Linked DNA regions of Homo sapiens: region 1 is linked to region 2. The links are contacts of gene promoters, found by promoter capture Hi-C in blood cells and fetal thymus (Javierre and others, 2016). All regions are on one chromosome and are shown on one strand. The core of a region is centred on a gene start or on the middle of the fragment in contact, and the rest is flanking DNA. Distances in the headings are between cores, read along the strand shown. Region 1 has its middle 19 kb from the start of SPESP1. Region 2 holds the start of ITGA11 (integrin subunit alpha 11).

What was found. The method cuts DNA at HindIII sites, captures the fragments that hold promoters and counts their contacts. A CHiCAGO score of 5 or more calls a contact.
Region 1: a fragment that was not itself captured here is called in contact with the fragment with the promoter of ITGA11 in region 2 in 1 of 17 cell types (M0 macrophages); the score reaches 5.0 in M0 macrophages.

Annotation. Positions count from the first base shown.
Region 1 is chr15:68,907,756-68,914,486 of GRCh38, reverse strand. No RefSeq gene overlaps it. Among named protein-coding and RNA genes, the nearest start is that of SPESP1, 19 kb to the left of the region's middle. The HindIII fragment of the contact is 3,346 bases long and covers 297-3,642 here.
Region 2 is chr15:68,430,819-68,438,460 of GRCh38, reverse strand. ITGA11 (integrin subunit alpha 11) reads left to right here and starts at 6,298. Exons shown (of 30, transcript NM_001004439.2): 1 at 6,298-6,446. The coding sequence starts at 6,395. RefSeq lists a silencer at 4,297-4,591 and an enhancer at 7,138-7,642. The HindIII fragment of the contact is 3,996 bases long and covers 4,850-7,642 here.

The DNA.
Region 1 (6,731 bases), core at 720-3,219, 480 kb before region 2:
CTGTACATGCCTGTAACTTGTTTTCTTCTCCCCAGTTTATTCCCAACTTACTTCCATGTCAGTGTATACAAAACACCTCAATGAAGTTTTTAACTCTATTGTTAAATATCTAGGTTGTCAACTTTTAACTATTACAAATGTTACAGATATTCAGCAATAAGCTTTCCTTGTTCATATATTTTTGCAAATTTGTGTAAATATTCAGTGTGCTGGGTTCTCAGAAATGACCTTACTCAATCAGAGTATATGCGTATTTAAAATTCTGTATATGGGGTCAAATTGCCCTCCAAAAAGCTTGTATCCGTTTACTTTTCCACAAATGCAGACATGATTACTGTCTTCCCCACATCCTTTTGGTGAGACTTTTTATCTGACTCTCCACTTTGATAAAAGTAATCTATTTTCAGTCATTCATGAGCTCCAATTGCCTTTGTTTTAACTGACCTTGCAGTTGAAATCTCACTGGTGCTGTGAATGGCCAAGTCTTAAGTGGTTAATTAATGAAGCTGCCGTAACTTTTTTGTTTATTTTACCATTTTGATTCTTTTCTTTCAGGTCTAGAAGTCTTTTTTGTTTTGATTTGGTTTAGTTTTGTTTTTCAAGTAGCAACAGGCAAATATGTTAATCAAACTTGATCACAAATGACTTTATTTCAAGACTTAAGTTCTACTATAAATCATTATTTATAGATTCTGCAGACCATGCCATTGGTTAAAGGACAACATGCAATCTATGAGAAACACCACTATTCTCTTTTACTATTATTTGTTTCAGCACTAAACCTCCAACAATACAGTAGTTTGGCTGTTGGTAATGTGTATTGATTTTTTAGTAATGCGATTCACTTGGGGTACAGTTTCAGCAGGGCTGTAATACTCTCTGAACCTTTTATTTCGTTCCATATTCAAAAATATTTCTTAGATCTCTGGATACTTACATTTCAGCCCTGGAACCCCAAATCTAGGGCTTTCTGAATTTATGCCACAGAGGTGTGGCAACAGCCTCCAGGTAATTTTGAGAAAGGTAAGTCTCTCTCAGGTCAGAAAGAAAATTGCAAATTTTCTATGGCCATTTTGATTTTAGTTTATAAAACACTCTACTCTGAGTTATATAAAGGACATTATGTAATTGCATTTGTTGTTGTTGTTGTCCGGTAGTCTATTTGAGTTAGAGATTGGTTTAGAAAGATGTGGGCAGAGGGTTGTGGAGGCCTCCGTTCCTCTAAGCTGAACTCTTCTAGTTTGAGTGCCTGTTTCAGCATGAAGGGAAAACATCTATCTTCTGTTCTTTACCAGAAAAAATCTCCAGACTCAGCAGTAAGAAACCAGGCATCCTCTAAGATTAGGGTGTGCTGTACTCTGAAGGGCCTACGTCAGTAACCAACCATCCTGGTTTACCTGGACAGGACTGTCTGGGTTTTAGCACTGACAGCCCTGCATCCCGTGAAATCCTGTAGTTCTGTGCAACCCAGAGGGTTGGTTGCTTTAGCAGTGCAAACAGGCTCAATGGCATCTATTACTTTGTCATTTTGTAGAAATGGCAAAATGGTTATAAAAGTTGCGATCTGTTTTAACATTTAAATTTTTTAAATTAACCCATTTAAAACACCCCAAATGTACAATTTATTATACTTGTGCTATTTATAAAAATAATCTCAGAGTTTTTAACAATATTAATTTACACATAGCAGTCCACTAACGGCATAAGTTAAACATTGTAAGGTGAACATCTCCTTCCTTCATTCTTGTTGGTCTGTCTCTGACTACAGAAATAGCCTCATATAAATGGCATGTCCACATTCTAAATTCAAGGCCCTCTGTGAAAGTGAGTTCTGGCCGTGGCAGCTCTGATGAGGTGGGAGGAGTCATTTTGCCACTAAAGTGGCAAAATGTAAGACATTCAAGAGGGTGGAGTGCCAAGAACAAGGTAAGCCTGCCCGTGGTGCAGGCAAGAGGGAACATCGAAAAAAAATTTATAAAGTAACAAAACCAATGGAAAGTTGACCTACTTTTTATTGTCACTACTCCCTGGCAATTATAAAAAATGTCAATGGTAAGGCCAGGCACGTTGGCTCACACCTGTAATCCCAGCACTTTGGGAGGCCAAGGCAGGCGGACCACCTGAGGTCAGGAGTTTGAAACCAGCCTGGCCAACATGGCGAAATCCTGTCTCTACTAAAAGTACAAAAATTAGCCAGATGTGGTGGCACATGCCTGTAATCCCAGCTACTTGGGAGGCTGAGGCAAGAGAATCACTTGAACTAGGGAGGCGGAGGTTGCACTGAGCCAACAATGCACCACTGCACTCCAGCCTGGGCGACAGAGCAAGACTCTGTCTAAAAAAAAAAAAAAAAAAAAAAAAAAAGTCAATAATAAAACACTCCTACCTAAAAACAAAATTATTGGTCTGCACTCTATACAATAGCAGTGATTACTGGTGAGTTTTAAGAATATACATGTAATCTGTCAATTAGTACATCTGTTTACCGCTTATACTTGAGAATTGTTCCAGCTGTCTGGCACAGTGTGTGCCTGAATCCGGCTCAAGTGATAAACACATTCCTGCATTGAGATGGTAGATTTGACATCAGCAATGATGGCACAGCCTTATAGATGAAGAAGCAAAACCTGAGTTACTTCAATCATGTCAGTCTTTGTGACCTCTTAGCGTTTTCATTTGTATTTAAAGTTGAAAACAGGCCAGGTGCGGTGGCTCATGCCTGTAATTCCAGCACTTTGGGAGGCTGAGGCAGGCAGATCACCTGAGGTCAGGAGTTTGAGACCAGCCTGGCCAACGCAGCAAAAACCCATCTCTACTAAAAATACAAAAACTAGCTGGGCATGGTGACATGTGCCTGTAATTCCAGCTACTTTGGAAGACTGAGGTAAGAGAATCACTTAAACTTGAGAGGCAGAGGTTGCAGTTAGCCGAGATCATGCCACCGCACTCCAACCTGGGTGACGGAGCAAGACTCCATCTCAAAAAATAAAAGGAAAAAAATAATAAAGTTGGAAACAGTAAAGTAGGGCAAATTGTGAGATATATTTTTGTTGTTAACACAAATTTTATTTCATATGTGAAATATCTTTAAAATGTATACTCTTTTAGTAGTTGTTATAAAACTAAAGAACAAATCAAGAGAATCATTATTACTGATTATTACAGAAGGTAATCTTGCCCTATAGAGGATCGGGGATGTTGAATATATTAGGTATGCCATCAACTGCCCCCTAACAAAACAAAAAGTGAGAAGAGGCCTGCCAGAAGCACTGCTCCAAAACATTAACTCTGCAAGGAATATTTAAGGAGCTTTGGAATTGGGCGTTGGGCATTGCAGTGTTACCAGCTGTCTTTTTTTTTTTTGTTTTTTTTTTTTTTTCAACATTTTCCCACCAAAAGGCATACAGATACTGTAATAAGCACATTCAGCAGTTTGTTCTAGGTCAAATCTTGGGAACATTACGCTAAGTGAAATAAGACAGTCACAAAAAGACAAATACTACATGATTCCACTTAAATGTGGTTTTAAAGAAACCAGACTCTTAGAAACAAGCAGAATTGTTGCTAGGGACTGGGGAAAGGGGAGAGGGGGAGTTGCTGTTTAATAGGTATAGAGCTTCAGTTTTGCAAGATGAAAAAGCTTTTAGAAATCTGTTGCACAACAATATGAAAATAGCTGACACTACTGAACTTCACACTTAAAAATGGTTAAGATGATACATTTTATACTGTTTAGCACAAAAATAATTTTATAAAAATGTACCTTTTGAAGGTTTTTTTATCTGATATGTGTAATACATAAAGCCAATTCTATCTAGATCCAGTCTTTATATTCTTTTTTTAATATACAGACAGGGTCTCACTCTGTTGCCCAGGCTAGAGTGCAGTGTTGTGATCATAGCTCATTGCAGCCTCAAACTCTTGGGCTCAAAAGATCCTCTTGCCTCAGCCTCCTGAGTAGCTAGGACTACAGGTGCATGCTACCACACCCAGCTAACTTTTTAATTTTTTGTAGAGACAGGGTCTTGCTGTGTTGTCCAGTGTTTACATTCTAAAGACACTGTATGTTGTCTGTCTAGAAATAATATGCTTTGGAGTGACCCAAACTGCAGTTAATGACATTAACAGGTAGAGGTGTTTTACATACCCAATGAAGGGATACACCTTTGCAAACTTTTCTATATTCTTCACAGATGCAGTCTGGCCTGGTGCTATCATGAAGCACATGTTCTCTCTCTGCTTTCAAGGACAGACATTTATGGGTTTATGATCTTCTCTCTATAGAGTAGGAAATATGTCATAGAGTTACAATACAAACTCACATTCACTAAAGAACAATTTAATAAGCAGTTTCTTTATTTTCATTGTTAAAACATAACAAATTGAGGTGCCTGTATTATTCTAATTTTAATTTACAAAATTCTAATCTAGCTCACAGTAGGACCCTAAGGAAACATGTTTGAATTTTTGTTATCTTTCCAAAAGGCTGAATGTTTTGGCTTAAACAGTTTGACTTTTTTTTCATTTGTTTACTAATTTGTAATGTAATTTAATACATTGCCACTGATATGGACAGTAGACTCTTTTAGGCACTAGATAAAAAGCACAGCCTCTGTGGTCCATGCTCCAGATTATTTTTCTACTCAGTCCTAACACCTGTGACCACCTGGCTGCTTGCTCAAATATAACAAGCTGGAATGAGAATGAGACTTAGATATGATAGACTTGGCATGTATCCTCAGTGTGTGGGCTGGTGGGAGGGATCATTTGATAAACAGTTAACCCCTCAACAACACAGATTTGAACTACATGAGTCCACTTCTATGTGGGTTTTTAAAATAAATACATTAGAAAATGTGTTCTACATTTCCAACAATTTGAAAAAACTTTGATGTGAACCATGTAGCTTAAAAATAATGAAAAAATTAAGAAAGTTAAGTATGTCATAAATGTATAAAATATACGTCGATATTGGTCCATTTTATCATTTATTACCATAAAATGAGTCCATTATAATATGTTAAAATTTATAAAAACTTATGCACACACTTACAGACGGTAGATGACACAATTCAGTCAAGAGAAATGTAAACAAATATAAGATGCAGTATTAAATCGTAATGCACCAAATGAACTGTGGTATATACTGTACTACTGTAAAAACTTCATAGCCACCTCCTGTTGCTATTGTGGGGAGCTCAACTGTCGTGAGTATCTGCTTAACTCAAGTGATGCAGGTCATCTCCAGGTGAGCAGTTTCTCCCTGCAGACCATTGGAACCACAGTACATGTGATCTCTCATGGTTCTCACATAGCTTTCATTATGTTTAGTTCAATACTGTAAACCTTGACTCACACCATGGAATCCATACAAAGTGCCCCTAGTGATGCTGGAAGTGTCTCAAGAAGCAGAGAAAATTCATGACATTACAAGAAAAAGTTAGATTGCTTGATACGTACTGTGGATTGAGGTCTGCAGCTATGGTTGCCATTTCAGAAAGACAATTCACCTTGTAAACAGTTAACTTACAATACAGATAAATATAGTAGAGTACTGTCAATGGATTTTCCTTAGGATTTTTTAAATAACATTTTCTTTTGTTCTAGCTTACTTTAAGAATATAGTATATAATATATCTAATATACTAAATATGTGTTAATTGACTGTTTATGTTATCAGTAAGGCTATCAGTAGTTAAGTTTTGGGTGAGTCAAAAGTTACACATGGATTTTTGACTGAGCAGGGGGTAGGCACCCCTAACCCCTGCATCATTTAAGGATCAGCTGTATTTAAAACTCAGAGTTATGTTTTCACAAATTTGGAATTTTGTTACCAACCACTCTGAAATCCAGCCTCACTGGGCTTTCCCTGAGCCCCACCGCTTCTCTAAAATGCTTTGCCAGACCATTTCCACACCAGCCTTCCTCTCACTCCTCCACTCTTGCTGTACCCACTTTCTGCAACCCCACAACTCCTGCTCCAGTGAGAACTTACCTTTTCTTCTTCACAGACAACTACCCCTATAAACCTTTCGGCTGGTATTTATTTATTTTTCCTTTTAATACTTTGATTTCTTTTAACCATTGAACTTTTCAAAGGAATGCAATGTTTATATAGAACTGGCCAGAATTTCAGTTACAGTTATTTTAAAAACTGGATTTGTTAATGGAAGAGTGTTTTCCAACTAGACAAATAGAAGGCAAAATGGATTGCCATTAATACAAGTGAAATACTACTAGTTATTTTGACCTGGGTAGAAGTTACACGGGTGTTCCTTTTGTGACCAATCACTGAGCTCTTCATTTCTGTCTTATACACTTCTCTGTAAATTATATTTCAAAATTACATACTTTTAAAATGTTGATATACACTGTCAAATTGCCCTTCAAAAATTCTGTGCAAATCTACATTCAGACCCCCCAGTGAGCCAAGCACTTCTTCCACATGGCGCCCTTGCCAGTTGTACAGTAGATTTCTGCCTGCACAAAGCTCATCTACTTTCAATCATTTACTGAGAACATTTTGCAGTTGTGCAGTTTCCAGGTCTTCATCTATGCTATCGATAATTGTGAAATTATGAAACATGCCATAACCATCTGCAGAAACTTTGTCCTTCCAGTCTTCCATCTTGTTTTGCCATTTTGCCATTCCATCTTATCTGCATTTGAAAATACTTCATTTCATCCTCGCGTGAAATTAGTGAGATAACTTCACATATTGGGAATATCAT
Region 2 (7,642 bases), core at 5,049-7,548:
GAAACCTTACCTCTCTGATCCTCAAGTTCTTCCTCTGTAAAAGGCAGGTATAATTGCACCACTTTGTAGGGCTGTCATGAAGATTAAAGGAAATGTGAGGAAAGCATCCAGCTCCATAAGTGATCAATAAATGGGAGGTGTTGTTTTGATTATTACCGTTCATGTTTGTCTCCTCTCCTAGATTAGGAGCTTTGTGGAGAGGCAATAACACATCTGGTTTGTCACTCTAACCCCAGGAGAGTGTCTGGTAAATGCATTAATAGAATGGCTCAACTCCTGCTCCCTTACCAAGTTGCACCCTTGGCCGTGAACCCTATGCACTGTGGGAATTCCTCACTCTGCTGCATGTCTTGTTTCACGTCATGACTGCTTCCCAAGACTGTCCTCTTTACCCCTGTGCACTGCATCCAGACCTTCACTTTCATGGCTTCTCTCAGACATCTCAGCCCAGCCCAGGACCAGGATGGAAGTCCTGGAAACCCCCTGGGTGGTGCTGAGGACTAAACGAAATGATGCAAGAGTTGCAGTTAGCCCATATTAACTTCTCAGTTAAAGGTATTCTTCACATCGCTGTAGTGACATTCAATTCTGATGTGGCTCTTCCAGTCCGGTCCAATGTCAAGGGTTTAGCCCAGCTAAACCCCATCAGAAATGACCTCTCAGCTGGAACATCCACTGACACCTCTAGACTTTTAAAGCAATTTCTATTCTCTCATACCCTTTGACATACTTTTTCTTCAAAGAGATGTTTCCTTATCCATCCTGCGTGTCTGTCTGTGCTGTGGCCATGCTCCTTCCCTTTGATATCTTTACTGCAAATGCTGTATATACTTGTGGCTTGAGAAATGGAGATCACAAAATAACTTTCTAGATTCAGTATAGGTTGTGTACAGGGCTTGATCCTTGTAGAAATTCCAGTCACTGACCCGCAGGCACAGGATTAGGAAGAATGGCAGCATCCACCCGGCTCTAACATTTCGGATTAGACTTTGAAGCGGAAAGTGGCTGGGACAAACATACACTACTGGTGTAAACACACTTCTTCAAAGTTAACCTGCTTCACTTTGTTGGTGGGGATGAGACCTGGCATGACAAATAAAAACCAAGGGACACCCTCTAAGCACACTTGTGCATGACAAATGCAGCCACTTCCTATCACAGAAGTCATTGGTCCAAAACGGTGGCATGCATCATTCAAACAGCAGATAACAAGGCAATCTGGTGGCTTTTTTTTTTTACTTTTTTTTTTCCTTTTCCCTTTGGGATTTATTATATCACTTTTTGGCAGAAGATGTGCCTTCTCAGTAACTGTAAGCTTGCTTACGCTTATCTTTGAAAAAAAGTTTGCATTTCCTAAGCACAAACCAACTGATAGTACAGAGAGGAGGTGGGATCCATGAGGGGGACCGCAAGGGCAGAAAGGAGCCTAGAAGCCAGGGAGTGCCTCAAGGTGGAGCCCCCAGGCTGATTATGGAGACTGGCTGCATTGGAGGTACCTGGGAGCAGGACAGAGAAGGGTGGAGAGAAATAACCAGAGAGTGGGAGAGAGTGGGGAGTATTGGAAAAGAAAGTTGGAGAAAGTGAGACAGAAGGCCCAAGATAGACACAGGGAGACCAGTTCATCCCAGTTTGTCAGAGATTGTCCCCCAGTGTTGACACTGAAGTCCTATATTCTAGAAAACCTCTTAGTCCCAGGCAAACCAGGACAATTGATCACCCAAGGTCAAAGTGGTGAAAAACTCAGAGAAAGAGTAGAAAGAGAGAGGCACCTCTCTGAAATGAGTGCAGATCAGGGCACCCCAATAACTTTTCTGGAAGAAGAGTGCATTGTGGCCAGGCATGGTGGCTCCTGCCTATAATCCCAGCATTTTGGGAGGCCAAGGCAGGTGGATCACTTGAGGTCAGAAGTTGGAGACCAGCCTGGCCAACATGGTGAAACCCTATCTCTACTTAAAAAAAAAAAAAAGATACAGACACACACACACACACACACACAAATCAGCCAGGCATGGTGGCGGGCGCCTGTAATCCCAGCTACTTGGGGAGCTGAGGCAGGAGAATCACTTGAACCCAGGAGGAAGAGGTTGCAGTGAGCTGAGATTGCACCACTGCACTCCAGCCTGGGTGACAGAGCAAGACTCCATCTCAAAAAAAAAAAAAAAAAAAAAGCATTGGTCCTAACTGAGCCAAGGCCTCTGTCATCAGTACTCCAGACCACTGCTCGTTCTCCCTCCATAGAGAAGCCAAGGTCCTCCCAGAGGAGCATGCTCAGACTGAAATCTTGGGAGCCACAGAAGTTGCCAATAGGACCTGTCTCTGAGCTGACCATGCTCATGCAGTCTTGGCCTGAAATACCCGCTCCCTCCACCCAGTTGGGATGTTGGGATTAATACTCAATCTGCTTTCAGAATGCTGGGTTCCAATCTCAGTTCTGCCTCATAGATGATGTGGAATCTTGCGTGAATCTATTGCTACTTTGAGCTTAGATTTTTTAGTAACCATGGATTTGTCTGTCCAGTATACTTTGCCATCCCACTTTTTCTGGTTCCTTTAGGAAAGTCCTCTCCTGTAATATGTGGTTTTGATGGGGCTGTCAGTCATGGCGCCTTTCTCTTCCCAAGTCATGGGGCTGGGTGTGTGTCCCAAACTGAGCTAATTATAGCACCATATCCTCCAGACACTAGGACTGGTTCAGGGGTGGGCATGAACCAAAGCCCTAGACTTTTCTGCTGGATCTACTAAAGGAAGGCTGTCTCTCTCCCTTCAGAATCTATGAAGTATAAGCTTGGGACTGCTAGACAGTCAGAGAAACTCTTCTGCTGCAGGAAAGGAAAATGGAGTGAAGCAAAACTAAGAGAAGACAGAGAGAGAGCAGTAACATTGATTTGAGACCCTTGATCCAGCCACACCTGCAGACAGAACACCTTTGCACTTCCTAGTTACATGACCTTTTACATTCTATTTTCTGCTTCAGTTTGATTGTGTTGAATTTCTGTCACTTGCAAGTGAAAGAATCTTCAACTATACAATCTCTTTACTATAAAAAATAAATACAATTTTGTACAAGATGAGTATTAAATTAGATCATGGATATGAAAGGGATTTCAAAAATAGTAAAACACTATACATAGCACTTGTACATTGTTGGTAGGAATCTAAAATGATGTAGCAACTGTGGAAAATAGTTTGGCAGTTCCTCAAATGATTAAACATAAAATTACTATATGATCAGCAATTCCACTCCTAGGTGTATACCCAAGAGAACTGAAAACATACATTCATACAAAAACTTGTATGAACATTATGCTAACATTATGCTATGTTAATGGATGGTAGAACTGCTACCAGCAAGACCGGCAGCACAAGTGTTCATAGCCACATTATTCACAATAACCTAAAGTGGAAACACCTAAATAAGCCTCACCTGATGAATGGATAAACAAAAGGGGGTAGATCCATACAATGGAATGTTACTTGGCAATAAAAAGGAATGAAATACTGATACATGTTGCAACATGGATGAACCTTGGAAACATCATGCTAAGGGAAAGAAGCCAGACTCAAAAGGTCACGTATTATATGATTTCATTTATATGCAACGTCCAGAATAGGCAAATCCATAGAAATAGATTTGTGGTTGCCAGGGACTGGTGGGAAGGAATGGGGAGTGACTGCTCATGGTTACAGGGCTTCTTTTTGGGGTGATAAAAATATTGTGAAATTAGTGAGGATGATTTTACAATCTTGTGAATATACTAACAACTACTGGATTCTATGGCACAGTTTATGGCATGTGAATAAATAAATCAGTTAAAACACTGTGTACATGTAAAGAGTTATTATTATTATTCAACAGAAATCACAGCTTTCATAAAGCCCTTCACCAAATTCTCTGCAGTTCTCCAGCCTTAGAGTCTGGATTGTGCACTTGTCACTCATATGCTGCTGCCTTGGGTGTGATTTAAATAATGTTTAATAGTGATGAAATAATAAATGGTTTTAAATAGATTAATAAATAACAGATTATGATTAAATAAATACATGGTTATGTCTTGTCTCCTCAGCTCCATCACCAGCTGCCCTAGTGTGGGGTTCTCCTTCCGTGTGTCCTACAGAGCACAGGGGCACAGTAGGCACTCTGTAGGATCTGTTGAAAGAACAAATGAGGGCACACCTCTCCCCTCACCCTCCCACATTACACAAAAGCACACAGAGTGATCCTCAGGACCCCCATTCCCCAGGCACCTGTGAGGACGGTGAAGGTGAATGAATGGTAGAATTGTTACCAGCGAGACCAGCAGCAGCGCAGCTAGGACAGCCACTACAGTGCGCCCCTTCAGCAAGCAGCATGCAGACTCTGAGCACAAGCTGCAGACCACCCACACGTCAGAGGTGCCTGGGGCACCCACCAGCATGCCCTGATCCTTGGGGAATTTGCATTCTTTGCACGTGCTCCAGGTCGTTCTGATGCACCTGGAGATTTGTGCAAGGCAGGAATGTGGGCTGCAGCCCATTCCCTAGCTGTAGGGGTGTTCTACATTCAACTCAGCTGGCTTAAACTCAACTCAGTGAAGAGGACTCACTGTCGTATAACTGATAAGTCCCAAGGGGAGTGGGGTTAAGGGGTGGCTTCATTCAGGAGTTCAACAAGATCCTCCATTCTGTCATCCAGTGTCCACCTCATCTCAAGGCCAGATCCTCCTTCCCTACCCTGACCCTGTCAACTTCTGAGCCTACAAAGTTCCTTGTCCCAGGCTGGGAGAGGAGGCAGGAGTGGGAGAGGTGAGGAGAGAGAGTTAGTTCATTTGTTTGTTTGTTCTAGGGGCTCTTTTAGAAAGGCAAGAAAGCTTGCTTCCCAAAAAAACTTTTTCTTTTGTCATATTGCCCTTTCTGAAACGATGGGCTGGGAAGGGCAACATACTGATTCATTTCAGCCTGAACCGCATGCCTCCTTACACACACACACACACACACACACACACCAGGGACGGAATCACCTTCCCCGAGTCTGTGGCTGAATGGGTGAGGTGAAGATGAAGTAAAACCCAGATAGCCAACCGAAAGATAGTGAGGTTGGGAGACGAGCACAAGCCCACTTCACTTATGTGAACCTGGGTCTTCTCAAACTCCAGCTCATCTTCAGGGGCCCTGACTGAACATCACCTCCTCTGGGAAGCCCTTCCAATACCTCCCAGATAGAAAACTCTATCCTTTGTGCACCCACACACCACCTGTACTCACCCATCCATCCACCCGCCCACCTACTTTGTTCCTGGGTGTTAGGGGCTGAGTACTCCATTGTGAACCAGAGATTTCTACCCTGATGGTGTTTTCAGTCTGCACAGGAGAGAAAAGTTAAATGATCACACCAATTGATGCCTTGCTTCTCTACTAAGCACAATGAAGAGAAATGAGGGAGAGCGGGCTGGGGAATATCAGCATGTGTCTGGGACTCAACCTGGTGGGGACGGGAAGAGGGGGTGAAGGAAGCCTTTCCTGAGAAAGTGGGGGAAGGGCGCTCTGCTGTGGCTTTCCCTGCATCTTGGCCTTCCTACCCTCTGCCTCGGCTTCCTCCATTGCTGGAAAAGCCTCCACAAGCGCGGTGGAGGTCCGGGGCCTGGATTTAAAGCTCTTGAGATAAATGTGCATTGAATTTAACTACCAGTGATTAGAAGAGGGAAAGAAGGTGGCAGGGTTACAAAGAAGAGCTTCACGTTAGGTTAAGAGGGGGTGCACGGTGTCCCTGGGTGCTTTGGAATGCCTCAGGTGTGGAGGCTCAGGGAGTGGCAGTGGAGGCGAATCTGCATGTATTCCAGGGTCAGAAGAAACACTAGCCTCTACAATTCAAGCCGCAGGGTGCAGGGAGACACGGGGATGTCTTAGAATGGACCTTTGAGGGACATCCACTCACTTGGCCAAGGGAGACCTGCGTTCCAGCAGGTGTTCCTGAGCCAGCTTGGGTACCCTCTGAGTTTTGTGAATCTCTTTTCACTGGGAAATGGGAATAAAAACCACTTTTCCTGAACAGAATCTGACTGAGGCGGTGCGGTGCTACACTGGTGAGGGGGTTCCCAGGAGCGGTTCTCTGGAGTTTTCTCCAGAGGCTGACGTGGGGTTGGCGGAGAAGGAGCGCTGCACAGGCGCGTCGAGGCAGCGCGCCGCCTGCCCAGGTGGCAGAGCGGCCGAGACTGGCCCAGAGCCCGAGCCGGAGTGGTGTCCGGCGCCCCTCCCCTCCGCTCGAGCCCTCCCACTTCCTCTGAATGAGCCGCAGCTGTCAGGGAGCCCGGCGCCCCGCGCAGTGCAGGCTGCAGGCGCCGCGCCGAGGAGGCTGCCGCTCTGGCTTGCCGCCCCCCGCCGCCGCTGCACACCGGACCCAGCCGCCGTGCCGCGGGCCATGGACCTGCCCAGGGGCCTGGTGGTGGCCTGGGCGCTCAGCCTGTGGCCAGGTAGGTGCCCACCCTCTGCCTCCCCTTGCCTCTCGGAGTCCCTCCCTGGGCCCTCGGGGCTTGGATCCAGCGGCCAGGATCGGGACGCGACCCTCCTCCCAGGGTCAGACCTCAGCTGCTCTTGGGGACGTGGGTCCCCCAGGGACTGGCCCCAGTCTAGCGGTTCAGTCAAGTTTCGCTAAAGAGGGAGGTGCGAAGGCTATTGAAAGCCGGGACTCTTTGGTGTGTTTGGGAAGAGTTGAAGAGGCTTGAGTTGAAAAGCTCCCAGATCTGGTGGCCCTCCTGGGCGCCTTAGGTGCCTCCAAGGCCCATGCCGGGGTTCCCGCACGGCTGCCAGGGGCACTCGGGTGTCCCGGGAGCGCCGAGGGCGCACGGCCCCGGCTGGGGAAGGGAATCAGCGCCAAGAGAGTGTGCCCTGGCTGCCCTCCTGCCTGGCTCCGGGGAAGCATCTCAAAGTTTGGAGAGCCGGGCGCGGCGGCCCCGGAGGGCTGAAGGGTGGGGGTGAGGGCTGCGCAGAGTGCCTCCGGCCAAAGACAGAGCAAAGCCCCGGGGCGATGGCCGGTAGGCGGGGGCTAGCTCTCGTCTGCCCGGCCAGCAGCGGCGGGACACAGTCGCGCAGCGCAGGACCCCCGAAACGTTACCTGACACCCGGGGTAGGGACCCGGCATTGCCTCCCAACCCGCGCTCGGAATTATGCAATTATTCAATAATCTGGGGAAAGCCGCCGTCGCCTAGACGCGCGCCGCCGCCTAATGCACTCCAGGTGTCGGGGCGCGGCAGGAACCTCCGGCCCGAGGGGCGCGCGGCTGGGAGCGGGAAGCCAGCCCTGAGCTCTCCGCCCTAGGGTACCCTGGCCCCGGCCGTCCCACACCGGGCTCCCCGGCTCCACCCTCCACGCGGGGCGGCTGCCAGTGATGCTGTTCTGCGGAAGACGGCCAAGTGCTCCGGCAAGGGCCAGCGCCTCGGTTACTGGCCGGGTGTGGGCGCTCAACCTTGCCTCCCCTTCTGCGTGGGCTCCAGGCCCGAGCTGGGGCCAGTAGTGGGGGTCAGATGCGGTGGTAGTGGGAGAGGTGCCCTCAGGGAGCTCAGGTGGAGACCCCTATCCCGCAGCCGCTTGCCCCAGTCCCCGGGTACCACGCGAAGCAAGTCCACCCTCCTGTCGGCCTACAGAGGAGCTTCTCAGAGGGCCCATGGTT